2 separate regions of the Homo sapiens genome follow, and region 2 is linked to region 1. The links are contacts of gene promoters, found by promoter capture Hi-C in blood cells and fetal thymus (Javierre and others, 2016). All regions are on one chromosome and are shown on one strand. Each heading gives the region's core, a stretch centred on a gene start or on the middle of the fragment in contact. The rest is flanking DNA. Distances are from core to core; before and after follow the strand shown. Region 1 holds the start of HSPB1 (heat shock protein family B (small) member 1). Region 2 overlaps CCDC146 (coiled-coil domain containing 146).

Evidence for each region. Contacts are between HindIII fragments. The CHiCAGO score rates a contact against its expected background, and 5 or more counts as called.
Region 2: a contact is called between a fragment that was not itself captured here and the fragment with the promoter of HSPB1 in region 1, in 1 of 17 cell types (total B cells). The highest score is 5.0, in total B cells.

What each region holds. Positions count from the first base shown.
Region 1 is chr7:76,297,189-76,303,922 of GRCh38, forward strand. It overlaps HSPB1 (heat shock protein family B (small) member 1), which reads left to right and starts at 5,485. Exons shown (of 3, transcript NM_001540.5): 1 at 5,485-5,888; 2 at 6,614-6,677. The coding sequence starts at 5,525. RefSeq lists a silencer at 2,224-2,518. The HindIII fragment of the contact is 12,431 bases long and covers 1-6,734 here.
Region 2 is chr7:77,269,685-77,276,479 of GRCh38, forward strand. It overlaps CCDC146 (coiled-coil domain containing 146), which reads left to right. Exons shown (of 19, transcript NM_020879.3): 10 at 4,010-4,105; 11 at 4,798-4,968. All of the region lies in intron 2 of LOC102723791 (a long non-coding RNA gene), which reads right to left. Among named protein-coding and RNA genes, the nearest start is that of CCDC146-AS1, 24 kb to the left of the region's middle. RefSeq lists a silencer at 1,910-2,092. The HindIII fragment of the contact is 729 bases long and covers 4,127-4,855 here.

The DNA.
Region 1 (6,734 bases), core at 4,235-6,734:
ACTCCTGACCTCAAGCAATCCACCCACTTCGGCCTCCCAACGTGTTGGGATTACAGCTGTTAGCCACCGCGCCCAGCCCGTGGTGGTGCACGCCCGTAGTCCCACCTACTCAGGAGGCAGGAGAATTGCTTGAACCTGGGAAGCAGAGGTTGTAGTGAGCTGAGATTGTGCCACTGCACTCCAGCCGGCGCAACAGAGCAAAACTCCATCTCAAAAAAAACAAAACTGAGCCCTTGAAGATGAACGTGAATTCCGAGGGAGTGAGCAGAGTGTGTGGGTTTGGTGCCTTGAGTTGCACAATCTCTCAGGCAGCAGGAATAGATCCAGTCCGTCCTGGTTTCAGGCAAGATGAAGGGAGCTTGTGTCTACAAAGGGCTGGCAGCTCCCATCCAGAGCATGGCTGGGCCTGATAGAGCCACACCTGGAAGCATTTATAACCACACCTGACAGCTCCCTCTGGGGTGGGGCACCCCCAGCTCCCGTCTGGGCCAAGGTGAGCAGGCAGAGGCAGATGAGGGCCCTCCCTGGCTCCTGACCTCACCTCGACTTTATACAGCTGGGGATGGGTGGGGCTGGGAGCACTGGGGAGCAAAAACCTGGGGCTTTCTGATGCTGTCCCATGGGGTGTCAACCAGGAGCTCCCAAATGAGACCCACTGGGCTCATGACAATGACCCAGCCAGGGAGGTGAGGTAGAAGGCAGGGGTCCTGTCTGCCTCCCACCATTGGCTCCCGAGAGCCCCAGGAGTTCAGAGGCCTTTCCAGGAGTGATCTCAGATTCATGGTCCAGCCCCAGCTCTTCCCTGATGGGGAGCAGGTGGGTAAGACAGAAAGGCATCTAGGGCCGGTGGCTCACACCTGTAATCCCAGCACTCTGGGAGGCGAGGCAGGTGGATCACGAGGCCAGGAGATCAAGACCATCCTGACTAACACAGTGAAACCCTGTCTCTACTAAAAAAAAAAAAAAAACAATACAAAAAATTAGCCGGGCGTGGTGGTGGGCGCCTGTAGTCCCAGCTACTCTGGAGGCTGAGGCAGGAGAATGGCGTGAACCCGGGAGGCGGAGCTTGCAGTGAGCCAAGATCGCACCACTGCACTCCAGCCTGGGTGACAGAGTGAGACTCCGTCTCAAAAAAAAAAAGAAAGAAAGAAAGGCATCTAGGTCGGGCGCAGTGGCTCACGCCTGTGATCCCAGTGCTTTGGGAGGCCTAGGCAGAAAGATCTCTTGGGGCCAGGAGTTCAAGACTAGTCTGGGCAACATGGTGCGACACCTGTCTCTACAAAAAATTTAAAAATTAGCCAAGTGTGGTGGCACACATCTGTAGTCCCAGTGACTCAGGAGGCTGAAGCAGAAGAATCACTTGAGCCCAGGAGGTCAAGACTGCAATGAGCTATGATCACTCCACTGCACTCCAGCCTGGGCAACACAGCGAGACTCTGTCTCAACAAAAAAAAAAAAAAAAAAGGAGAGAGAGAAAGGCATTTATGAGCTCTCTCTCAAAAAGGAAACTGAGGCTCAGAGAAGGCATGAGGACTTGCTGCTTCCCCAGCTCATCAAGGTGAGTGGCCTGGAGTCTGCCCCGATTCTGGGCCTGGGCAGGGCAAGACTTCAGTGGCCTTGGCTCCCCATAGAAGTAGGAGGAGTGGAGCCTCAGTCCCAGGATAGGGACAGCAAGTACAGTGGGACAGAAGAAGTGGGAGGCCCTGGGTACTAGAGAGGCAGGAGGTTGGCTCTGAGAGCACTTTACCGGAGACAGCAGAAAGCCATTTAATCTCTGTGCACAGCAGTTTCCTTGTCTAAAAACCAGGGATAACAGGGCCGGGTGCGGTGGCTCACACCTGTAATCCCAGCACTTTGGGAGGCCGAGACAGGTGGCTGACTTGAGGTCAGGAGTTTGAGACCAACATGGCGAAACCCTGTTTCTACTAAAAATACAAAAATTAGCCGGGTGTGGTGGCTCATGCCTGTAATCCCAGCACTTTGGGAGGCCAAGGCAGGCGGCTCACTTGAGGTCAGGAGTTTGAGACCAACATGGCGAAACCCCGTTTCTACTAAAAATACAGAAATTAGCCGGGTATGGTGGCACATGCCTGTAATCCCAGCCACTTGGGAGTCTGAGGCAGGAGGATCGCTTGAACCCAGGAGGCGGAGGTTGCAGTGAGCTGAGATTGCGCCACTGCACTCCAGCCTGAGTGATAGAGTGAGACTCTGGCTCAAAAAAAAAAAAAAAAAAAAGACAAAAAAAAAAAAAACAACAACAACTAAAACAGGGACCTAAGTCAGGGGAGAAGGAAGGCTGGAATGGCCATGCCTACAAAGACAGGAAAGAGGGAATGTCAGGGTTGTGGCAGGAGCCTAGGGCAGCACCCTCCCTCCAAGCTGGGAGATAGGAGCCAGGATCCCATTGGTGTTTAGATGGATGAGGTAGGGTCAAGGGGCAAGCTCCAGGCTCTAAGCACTTCTGTGCAGACTCTACTACTTGGAGCTCCCCTCTCCCTCTGTGATGTGGGCATCAAAATCTGCAGAAAGGGAAACTGAGGCCTAGAGAAAGGAGGGGATTTGCCCAGAATGACACAGGAAGTCCAGACTAATTCAAGTTTGCGGCATTTGAGGTTCCTGGCCAGTGTTTCTTTTTCTTTTTTGTTTTTTCTTTTTTGTTTGAGACAGAGTCTCGTTCTGTCACCGAGGCTGGAGTGCAGTGGCGCGATCTCAGCTCCCCGCAACCTCTGCCTCCTGGAATGATCCTCGTGCCTCAGCTTCCCCAGTAGCCGGGATTACAGGCACCCATCACACCTGGCTAATTTTTTGTATTTTTGGCAGACACGGGGTTTCGGCATGTTGGCCAGGCTGGTCTTGAACTCCTGAACCCAGGCAATAAGTCTGCCTCAGACTCTCAAAGTGCTGGGATTACAGGTGGGAGCCACCACGCCCGGCCAACCAGTGCTTCTTAAGGAAAGATACATATAGTAGGAGATGTGACAGTAATCTTCCTCCTGGCCCCTCTCAGCACTGTGCCATGGAGGTTCTGATCTGGGCCAGCTGCGCTGTTAGGGGAAGGGGGAAAATGGCCAAACCCCATGTATTCTCCTTCCTTTTCCCTCTCTTCAATCCCAGGCAGGTAACAATAATTATGATGTACCAGGCTCCGGGCCAAAGTCATCACCTGCATTAGGTCACCAAATCCTCAGGCCAACCCATTACAGTCATGAGTCACTTAATAACAGACACATTCAACAAATTCCTTGTTAGGCAATTTCATCATTGTGGGAACATCTCAGAGTGGACTTACACAAACCTAGATGGTCTAGCCTACTACACACCTAAGCCATATGGTCTAGCCTACTGCTCCTAGGCTACAAACCTCTACAGCATATGACTGCACCAAATATTGAAGGCAGCTGCAACATGAGGGTAAGTATTAGTGTTTCTAAAGATAGAAGATGGCCAGGCGCGGTGGCTCACGCCTGTAATCCTAGCACTTTGGGAGGCCCAGGCGGGTGGATTACTTGAGGTCAGGAGTTCAAGACCAGCCTGGCGAACATGGTGAAACCCCATCTGTACTAAAAATACAAAAATTAGCCAGTGTCGCGGCACTTGCCTGTAGTCCCAGCTACTCAGGAGGCTGAGGCAGAAGAATCACTTGAACCTGGGAGGTAGAGGTTGGAGTGAGCCTAGATCAGGCCACTGCACTCCAGCCTGGGCGACAGAGGGAGACTCCATCTCAAAATAAATAAATAAATAAATAAATAAAACATAGAAGATGTACAGTAAAAACACGGTAATTGTTTTTGTTTGTTTGTTTTGAGACAGGGTCTTGTTCTGTCATGCGGACTGGAGTGCAGTGGCACCATCAGGCTCACTGCAGCCTCGACCTCCTTGGCTCAAGTGCTCCTCCCACCTCAGCCTCCTGAGTATCTGGGACTACAGGTCCACGCCACCATGCCTGGCTAATTTGTTCTGAATTTTAGTAGAGATGGGGTCTCACTGTGTTGCCCAGGCTTGTTCCAGCCTTCTGGCTTCAAGTAATCCTCCCACATCAGCCTCCCAAAGTGCTAAGATTACAGATGTCAGCCACTGCACCCAGCCAGTAATATAATTTTATGGGACCACCTTCATATTTGCTGTCCCTTGCTGACTTACACATCTTTATGCAATGCATGACTGTTACCATCATTATCATCTCTATTTTCCAGATGGGGAAACTGAGGCACAAAGAATCTAACTTGCACAAGTTCATCTGCTTAGTGATGGAACAAAGATGTGAATTCAGGCAGTCTGGCTTCAAAGTCCACACGCCTAACAACCACACCAGATTACTAGATTGCTTTTTTCTTTTTTCTTTTTTTTTTTTTGAGATGGAGTCTCACTCTGTCACCCAGGCTGGAGTACAGTGGTGAGATCTCGGCTCACTGCAACCTCTGCCTTCTGGGTTCAAGCAATTCTCCTGCCTCAGCCTCCCCAGCAGCTGCGATTACAGGCGCCCGCCACCACACCCAGCTAATTTTTGTATTTTTAGTAGAGATGGGGTTTCACCATGTTGGCCAGGCTGGTCTCAAACTCCTGACCTCTGGTGATCCTCCCACCTCGGTCTCCCAAAGTGCTGGGATTACAGGCGTGAGCCACCACGCCCAGCCCAGACTGCTTTATTTTTGTATTTGTATTTATTCATTTACTTATTTTGAGACAGGGTTTTGCTCTGTAGCCCAGGCTGAAGTGCAGTGGTGCAATCCAGCTCACCACAGCCTCTACTCACCGGGGTTCAAAGGATCCTCCTGCTTCAGCCTCTGGAGTAGCTGGGGCCACAGGCATGCACCACCATGCCCAGCTAATTTTTAAATATTTTTTGGTAGAAGTAGGGTCTCACTATGTTGCCCAGACTGGTCTCAAACTCCTAGCCTCAAGGGACCCTTCTGCCTTGGCCTCCCAAAGTGCTGAGATTACAGGCATGAGCCATGCACCCAGCCCCTTTTTAAAATTTTTTTGAGAGACAAGACTTTGATCTGTTGCCTAGGCTGGAGTGCAGTGGTGAGATCATAGCTCACTGCAGCCTCAACTCCTGGGCTCAAGCACCAGACTCCTTTTATCACATTCTATCTCACACGCGTGTGGTTCCAATCCTGCCTCTGCCACTTCTCAGTTGTATGCCCCAACCCAACCTGTCTGGCTCTGTCCTCCTTAACAGAAGGACGGCCCTGGCCACGGGCCACAGCCAGCAACGCTTAAGCACCAGGGCCGGCGAGTGCCCTGCCGTGGCACGGCTCCAGCGTCGCGCTCTCGAATTCATTTGCTTTCCTTAACGAGAGAAGGTTCCAGATGAGGGCTGAACCCTCTTCGCCCCGCCCACGGCCCCTGAACGCTGGGGGAGGAGTGCATGGGGAGGGGCGGCCCTCAAACGGGTCATTGCCATTAATAGAGACCTCAAACACCGCCTGCTAAAAATACCCGACTGGAGGAGCATAAAAGCGCAGCCGAGCCCAGCGCCCCGCACTTTTCTGAGCAGACGTCCAGAGCAGAGTCAGCCAGCATGACCGAGCGCCGCGTCCCCTTCTCGCTCCTGCGGGGCCCCAGCTGGGACCCCTTCCGCGACTGGTACCCGCATAGCCGCCTCTTCGACCAGGCCTTCGGGCTGCCCCGGCTGCCGGAGGAGTGGTCGCAGTGGTTAGGCGGCAGCAGCTGGCCAGGCTACGTGCGCCCCCTGCCCCCCGCCGCCATCGAGAGCCCCGCAGTGGCCGCGCCCGCCTACAGCCGCGCGCTCAGCCGGCAACTCAGCAGCGGGGTCTCGGAGATCCGGCACACTGCGGACCGCTGGCGCGTGTCCCTGGATGTCAACCACTTCGCCCCGGACGAGCTGACGGTCAAGACCAAGGATGGCGTGGTGGAGATCACCGGTGAGCCCCCCTGCTCCTGCAGGGGAGAGGAGGAGGCTAGCAGGGCGGGCAGGGCCGGGGGCGTGCGGTTGAAACGGGGGTCCCGGGGGCCTGGGGAGTTAAACGTTGGCCCAGCACCGGGAAAAACAGGACTCCTGATTCCCTTGCTCAGGAATTGGGAGTGCGGGTCGCTTCTAAGGGCGCTTTCTGCTCTGTAATCCCAGCGCTTTGGGAGGCCGAGACGGGAGGATCGCTTGAGGCCAGGAGTTCAAGACTAGCCTGGGCAACATAGCGAGACGCGCCCCCCCGCCCCGACCCCGCGCCATTACAAAAAAAAAGCAAACAAAAATTTTTTTAAAGATCATCGATGAAGAGAGAAAATGCGCTTTTCTACAGAGTCCCCTTCCCACCCACAGCCCCATCCCCAGATAAGCGGGGAGTTCCCTGGCGCGGTGCCAGTTTCTAGCCGCTGAGTGGGCGTGTGCGCGGCTCCAAGTGCGCCTGCGTACTGCTCACTCCCCAGCTCCGCGCCCTGCTCCGTTCCTCCCAAAACTCTGAATCGAAGAACTTTCCGGAAGTTTCTGAGAGCCCAGACCGGCGGGCACGCCCCCATCCCCAACCCCCTCTGTTAATCCCTACCAGCCTGCAGTCCTGGCTGCTTCCAAGCAGGAGGTGGGGCCTCTGGCCTAGCGGGGCCGAAAGGCAGTCCCCTCCCCCGCAGTCTGATTTCCCTCTTCCCCCCAAAGGCAAGCACGAGGAGCGGCAGGACGAGCATGGCTACATCTCCCGGTGCTTCACGCGGAAATACACGTGAGTCCTGGCGCCAGGTCGGGGTGGGTGGGTGGCGTGGGGGTGGGGTCAGGGAAG
Region 2 (6,795 bases), core at 3,241-5,740, 970 kb after region 1:
AGCACCCATTGAATATAAAACTAAGCACCCATAGAATATAAAACTAACAGAAATTAAAGTGTATTAGAATCCTTTTCCTTTGTTGATTTTAAGAAAAATCTGGTTTTGTTCTAGTACAGTTTCAGTGAGAGACTAACTTCCTCTTTGACCCTGTGATTTATAATTAGCCCAGCCACTGCCCACAGCTGGCAGTACTTGAAAACAGGAGTGGGTCAGGCCAGGCACTCCCAGCCCAAGTGAACATTTTTTCAGACTTGCATGCAATCCAAAACTAAAAGAGATAAAAGGTAAACATGAAGAGCTCTAGCTATTCTTCAGAATGTATTTCCCCCCAGAGACAGTTGTTTGATTCTCCTATGGCGTTTGACTTGTACATAGAGACTCTCCCAGAAACTCAAGGTACAAGCCTCATGAAAGGTTGGAATGCTTTAGAAAAATATCAAAGTGTTAAGCTGAGGTTCACTGATATCAAATAATTGGGATATTTACAGCAACAAGTAATGTCTAATTTCTTAACTTTTATGAAAGTTACCGATGATTATTCATGCATTGAAAATGCCTGGAAGAACAGACACCAAAACTATTAATAGTGACTCCTGGGGAGTAGTACTTGAAGCAGCAGAGGTAGGAAGCAGATTTTTTTTTTTTTTTTACTTTACACATTTCTGTTGTTTGGTCACAATCACAATAAATACATTTTTAAATGTGAAATGCTACACTATAAAAACTAAAAGAACTATCATAAGCTTACAAAACCTGATATATGCAGTTTGGGGCTCAAAAGAAATGGAAAATATCTCAAGTAACTCCAGACCATGTAGTTAGAACTTTGATACTTGATAGTTATTTTCCTCCCACATTAATGGAGACTTCAGTCTAACTCCAGCCTATTTTCCAGATTACCTTGGGAAGGTTTCCTTTCAAGAGAAACACCTATTAGGTTAGGTTTGCAATTTGGCCTCAATGAGTAATAGAAACTCAACTATAATGATTTTGCTAAATAGGGAGTTGTTTTACTCACTTAATAAAAAGAGCACAGGTAGGCACAACCGGTTATTTCACATAATGAAAAGTCTAGGATCCTTTTAGCTCCCCTTTCAGTCAACCTTAGTGTGTACATTGTTTCTCCATGGTCAGAAAATGGCTATTCCACCTTAAGCATAAACTGGCAAAAGGAGGAGGAAGGGCAACGAGCAAAAGACATAAATGATTGCTGGCTTGGCCAGCTCCTTTTAACAGGAAAACAGCCACTTTCCCAGGACCCCTCCTCACAGACTTCCACTTACATTTCATTGGCTTGTCTTAGCTCATATGGGCACCCCCAGCTGCAAAGAAGTGTGAGGACTCCTGGATACATTGCAGCTCTGGAAAAAAAAAAAAAAAAACAGCATTCTGTTGCTGTCGTGGTTAATACTAAATGTCAATTTGATTGGCTTGAAGGATACAAAGTATTGATCCTGGGTGTGTCTGTGAAGGTGTTGCCAAAGGAGATGAACCTTTGAGTCAGTGGGCTGGGGAAAGCAGACCCACCCTTAATCTGGGTGGGCACAATCTAATCAGCTGCCGGTGTGGCTAGACTATAAACAGGCAGAAAAATGTGAATGAGAGACCGGCCTAGCCTCCCAGCCTACATCTTTCTCCCGTGCTGGACCCTTCCTGCCCTCGAACATCGGACTCCAAGTTTCTTCAGTTTTGGGACTCAGACTGGCTTTCCTTCCTCCTCAGCTTGCAGATGGCCTATTGTGGGACCCTGTGATCCTGTGAGTTAATACTTAATAAACTCCCCTTTTTATTTTATATATATATATATACACACACACTAATAGGAGATATATATATATATATATATATATATATATATATATATATATATATATATATATATGGAGATACAAAGAACCCTGACTAATAGAGTTGCTAAGATCAAGGTGGAGGGTAGCTATTGGCTAGGCAACCAGGAGGCTCTGCTACCAATGGCTTATCATGTCACCTCTTCCACAAGCCAAGCCTACCTAATTCCTGCCTGAAACTAGAGAGCTGGGCTTTACAGAGAATTTAAAATGGTATCAGAGAAGCAGTAGCCAGAGTTCAAAAATGAATACAATTTATTGAAGTATTGTTTGTGTTTCAAAATATTGGAAATAACCAAAGTGTCTAGACCTCAAGCCAGAAAAATCTGTCGAGAGCCTTTAGTTGACATAGTAGCTAGTGAGTGTGTTCTCATCATATTTTCTGTCGAAACCTCATAAGGGTTCCTGGGCCCTGTTATTCACGTTTACATCTGCCGACACCCGGGAGCTGAGCATGAGGACAGCCCACTCCAGGCACACCTGTAGCAGAGAATCAGACAGGGACCCAGGATGTTTGCTGGAGTTCCTCTATCCAGGAGGTCTTAACTTGACTTTCCTAAAGGAGAAATCAACACTTCCTTGATGAATATTCACATCTTCCAGGAAGGCTTTCCCAATTATTCAATTCTATACTGAGTTCTCCCTTTTCTGATCTGCTATAGCAATTTTATGTTTGTTAAGCCCACAACATTCTGTATATTGTCAGACATGTTTCACAAGACCACATCTCGTTTTCCTAAGTCCAGTGTGTGCATCTCAAGAGCTAGTGCTCCAGGGTAGGAGACCCAATGGAAAAGCAGGACATGGACACCTGAGGGTACAGAAGGTGCTACTGAAGATACCCTGATTCATGGATGATGGGGCATCCAAAGACACACTTTAGTGACTTTAACATAGCAGCATGATCCTCAAAAAGATCCTGTTAAGTAACCTTCAAATCACTAGACAGTGTGATATTCCTTTCTTGGGTCTAAATTTTGGCCATTATTCAACCTTAGGGCCTACAAGTGTGTGCTGTCACAGTAGGAACTGAACCACATCAGATTGGAGTCATGAGCTTTTGGTGTAAATAGCCAACTCTAAACTTGCTCTAAGTCAAGTAGGCTGGAAGCACCCCAAGATGACCCTCCCTGTAGCCTTGAATGGTACCCTTTCCCCATCAGCTGCCACATGTCCTCCTCTCTACTCTCGTCTTCATCACAAAGAATCTGACAAGCTCATTCCTAATAGGGCAACAAAGACTTAAAGAGTGAGATTTGCCTTTTCCCTAAAGTACGTCAACACAGGAGAAAAGTGCAAGCCGTTACAACAGAAATGTAATGGTGAAATTTTAGGTATCAACCAAAAAGTTGAGGCTTTTCTTTTGTGTAAGAAATTTCCAGCTACTAATCAAATGACTATATATAAGTAGCAAACTATCCCCACTATTATTAATAAATTACATATTTTTCTTTATCCTATACAATTTCATAAATGTACTCACATTTTATAATAACTATAATTTGAATAGTCATAGTATATTCATGTCTCCAAAGTGCTGGGTCATGAGTTAGATGAGTTAGGCAGATCATGGGTTCCAAGTCTACCTCCCTGGGTTTACACCTGCACCATTGAGGCAAGTTGCTTAAATGTGTTTGTGCCTCATTCTCTTCATCTGTACAATTGGAGAAAATATTCCCCACCTCATGAGGGGTATTGTAATGATGAAATAAGATCGTATACACAGGCATTTAGAACCTTGCTGGACACTTGGTTTATGTTCAATAAATGTTAGCTATTAGTAAGATTTATTTCTAAATAATAAACATTTGCAGCTGGCAAATTATAGATTTTTGGCAGGTCTTCATATTTTAATTTGCCATGGCTTATAAAGAATATTTGGCATAAAGGGAAGTTCTTATAAGATTGAGATTCGTGATTTGCTCAGCATTTTCAAAAAGTGTGTGATGAGGTTGACTACACAGCAGTGAATTTTATTTATTTATTTATTTATTTATTTATTTTCAGACAGAGTCTCACTCTGTCACCCAGGCTGGAGTGCAGTGGCACGATCTCAGCTCACTGCAACTTCTGCCTCCCGGGTTCAAGCAATTCTCTGCCTCAGCCTCCCAAAGATTTATTTCTTACATAAATGCATGTTTTTAAATTTTGATTTCCAGATGGAAGCTATCCCCAAAGATGATTCTACATTATCTGAGAGAAGGCGAGAGCTTCACAAGGAAGTTGAAGTAGCTAAGAGGAATTTGGCCCAACAGGTTAATATCAATGCTCATTTAAGCTTCTATCTAAGAAGCGTTCATACAAAGTTGTGCTTTTAACTGTGCTCCACAAAACCTTATCAATAAGAGAGTCATCAAAGAGAGTATGATCCTGCTTCATGTGGGCATATTTCTTCATCTCAAAGTCCACTCCAATCCTACACTAAATTTGAGAAAAAAGAATATGTTTGAACCGCAAAAAGTATTCAAAGGAATGAGATTTTTAAATTATGGGCTGTTGATTACATTAAAAGTAAACCACAGATGTTTTATTTCACCAATGTCTAATTTCAAATTTTCGTTTGTTTTTATGTGTCTTCTTTTTCTTAGTCACTTGAAAATACAGTCTAAATACAAAGAGGTTCTATCATGTTAACCCATCGATTTTCACATTATTTTACAAAATGAAAACAATGAAGCTAAAACACCATTACTTTATTTTTAATTTTTATTTTTTTTATAGAGAGGGATCTTGCTATGTTGCTCAGGCTGGTCTTGAACTGCTGGCCTCAAGTCATCATCCTGCCTCAGCCTCCCAAAGGCTTGAATTACAGGCGTGAGCCACCACACCTGGCCTGTTTAAAAAAATACATTTTGTATAGGAAGTAAAAAGGTAGTCTAAGATACTAGCTTTACTGTATTACTTCAAACAAATAACTTATAATATTATCTGTGTTTTTTTTCAAAAGAAAATTATATCAGAAATGGAGTCTAAGTTAGTAGAACAACAACTTGCAGAAGAAAACAAGCTTTTAAAGGAGCAAGAAAACATGAAAGAGCTAGTAGTCAACCTTCTCCGCATGACTCAAATCAAAATTGATGAAAAGGAACAAAAGTCCAAGGATTTCCTGAAAGCTCAGGTAACTGCATTTTTTTAACCATTCATTGATAACTACAAGAGTTCAGGGTAGCCTCATTATAATGCCACGTGCATTAGGACATGGATGAAGCTAGAAACCATCATTGTCAGCAAACTATCGCAAGGACAAAAAACCAAACATTGCATGTTCTCACTCATAGATGGGAATTGAACAATGAGAACACTTGGACACAGGAAGGGGAACATCACACACCGGGGCCTGTTGTGGGGTGAGGGGAGCGGGGAGGGATAGCATTAGGAGATATACCTAATGTAAATGATGAGTTAATGGGTGCAGCACACCAACATGGCACATGTATACATACGTAACTAACTTGCACATTGTGCACATGTATCCTAGAACTTAAAGTATAATAAAAATATATAAATATTAAAAAAAGAACTGGAAGGAAACTCAAAAAAAAAAAGAAAAGCTATACAATTGACCCTTGAACAACATGGATTTGAACTGCATGGGTCCATTTATACACAGATTTTTTTCAACCAAATGCAGATCAAAAGTAGAGTACTCACAGAATACAAAACCTGCAAATATGGAAGGCCCACTTTTCTTACAGGTGAGTTCCACAGGGCCAACTTTGGGACTGCTTGAATATGCTTGGATTTTTGTATTCTCAAAGGGTCCTGGAACCAGTTCCCTATGTATACCAAGGAACCACTATAACTGTGCCTCTCCTTCAAGTACCAGTGACTATAAATCTTCCCTAAATGAGATTCAATCATGCACTGAAAGATAGTCCCAAGATTCAATTAACAGTAATCAACAATTTAGATGGGAAAGGAGATCATTGATAATGATCGGAGGATTTGAACAGATGGCAATTTCAGTAAGAATAAAGTGGGTGCCTCCAGTGGACAGGGCTGGCAGCTGCATAGGCTGCAGATATCATTTAGTTTTCACTCCCATCTCAGACTCCACTGTGATTTGTCCAGGAACAACTCAAGAGTGGTAGCATTAGGTAACTGTCCCTCCCAACTTCATCAAGACAGCATCATTTAATCGAATGCCAGATACCCTTAGTTGCTTCATCACACCATGATTTTCCTGGGCCTCCTACAAAGTGCCAGTGCAACATTCCCCCCTAAAATCAACAATAAAACAAATGGTAAGGCAGCACTCCTGTCATGCAAGCTAAAATTCTACCATTAGAATTGTTTATTCCATATAAGGATTATGTCCAGATCATGCCCAGAAGCTCCCTGTTAAAAATAAACAGGATATTACATATTACTAAAATAGAAGAATTTATCAGGCCAGGCATGGTGACTCATGCCTGTAATCTCAGCACTTTGGGAGGCTGAGGCGGGTGGATAACTTGAGGTCAGGAGTTTGAGACCAGCCTGACCAACATGGTGAAACCCCATCTCTACTGAAATACAAAAATTAGCCAGGCATGGTGGCAGGTGCCTGTAATCCCAGCTACTTGGGAGACTGAGGCAGGAGAATCGTTTGAACCTAGGAGGTGGAGGTTGTAGTGAGCCAAAATCGCACCACTGCATTCCAGCCTGGGTGACAGAGCGAGACTTCCTCTCAAAAATAAAAAAAAAAAAGAATTTATCTCATGACCCAGATGTGGTCTGTTTGGTCTGTTTCTAAGCACATCCCTTGTTCTCAGTCTAAGTAAGGATTTACATAGAATGGTATTTCTTCTCATTCTGCAGAAAGAGCTCACTCACGCCAAAGCATTAGTGAGCAATGAGGTATGAAGTAGATTTTTGCAAAAAAGAGAAGATCTACATTGCACAACCCACTGCAGGCACTTCACATCCCCCTTTCACTGTTTATTTTTCTACTTTAATATTTAAG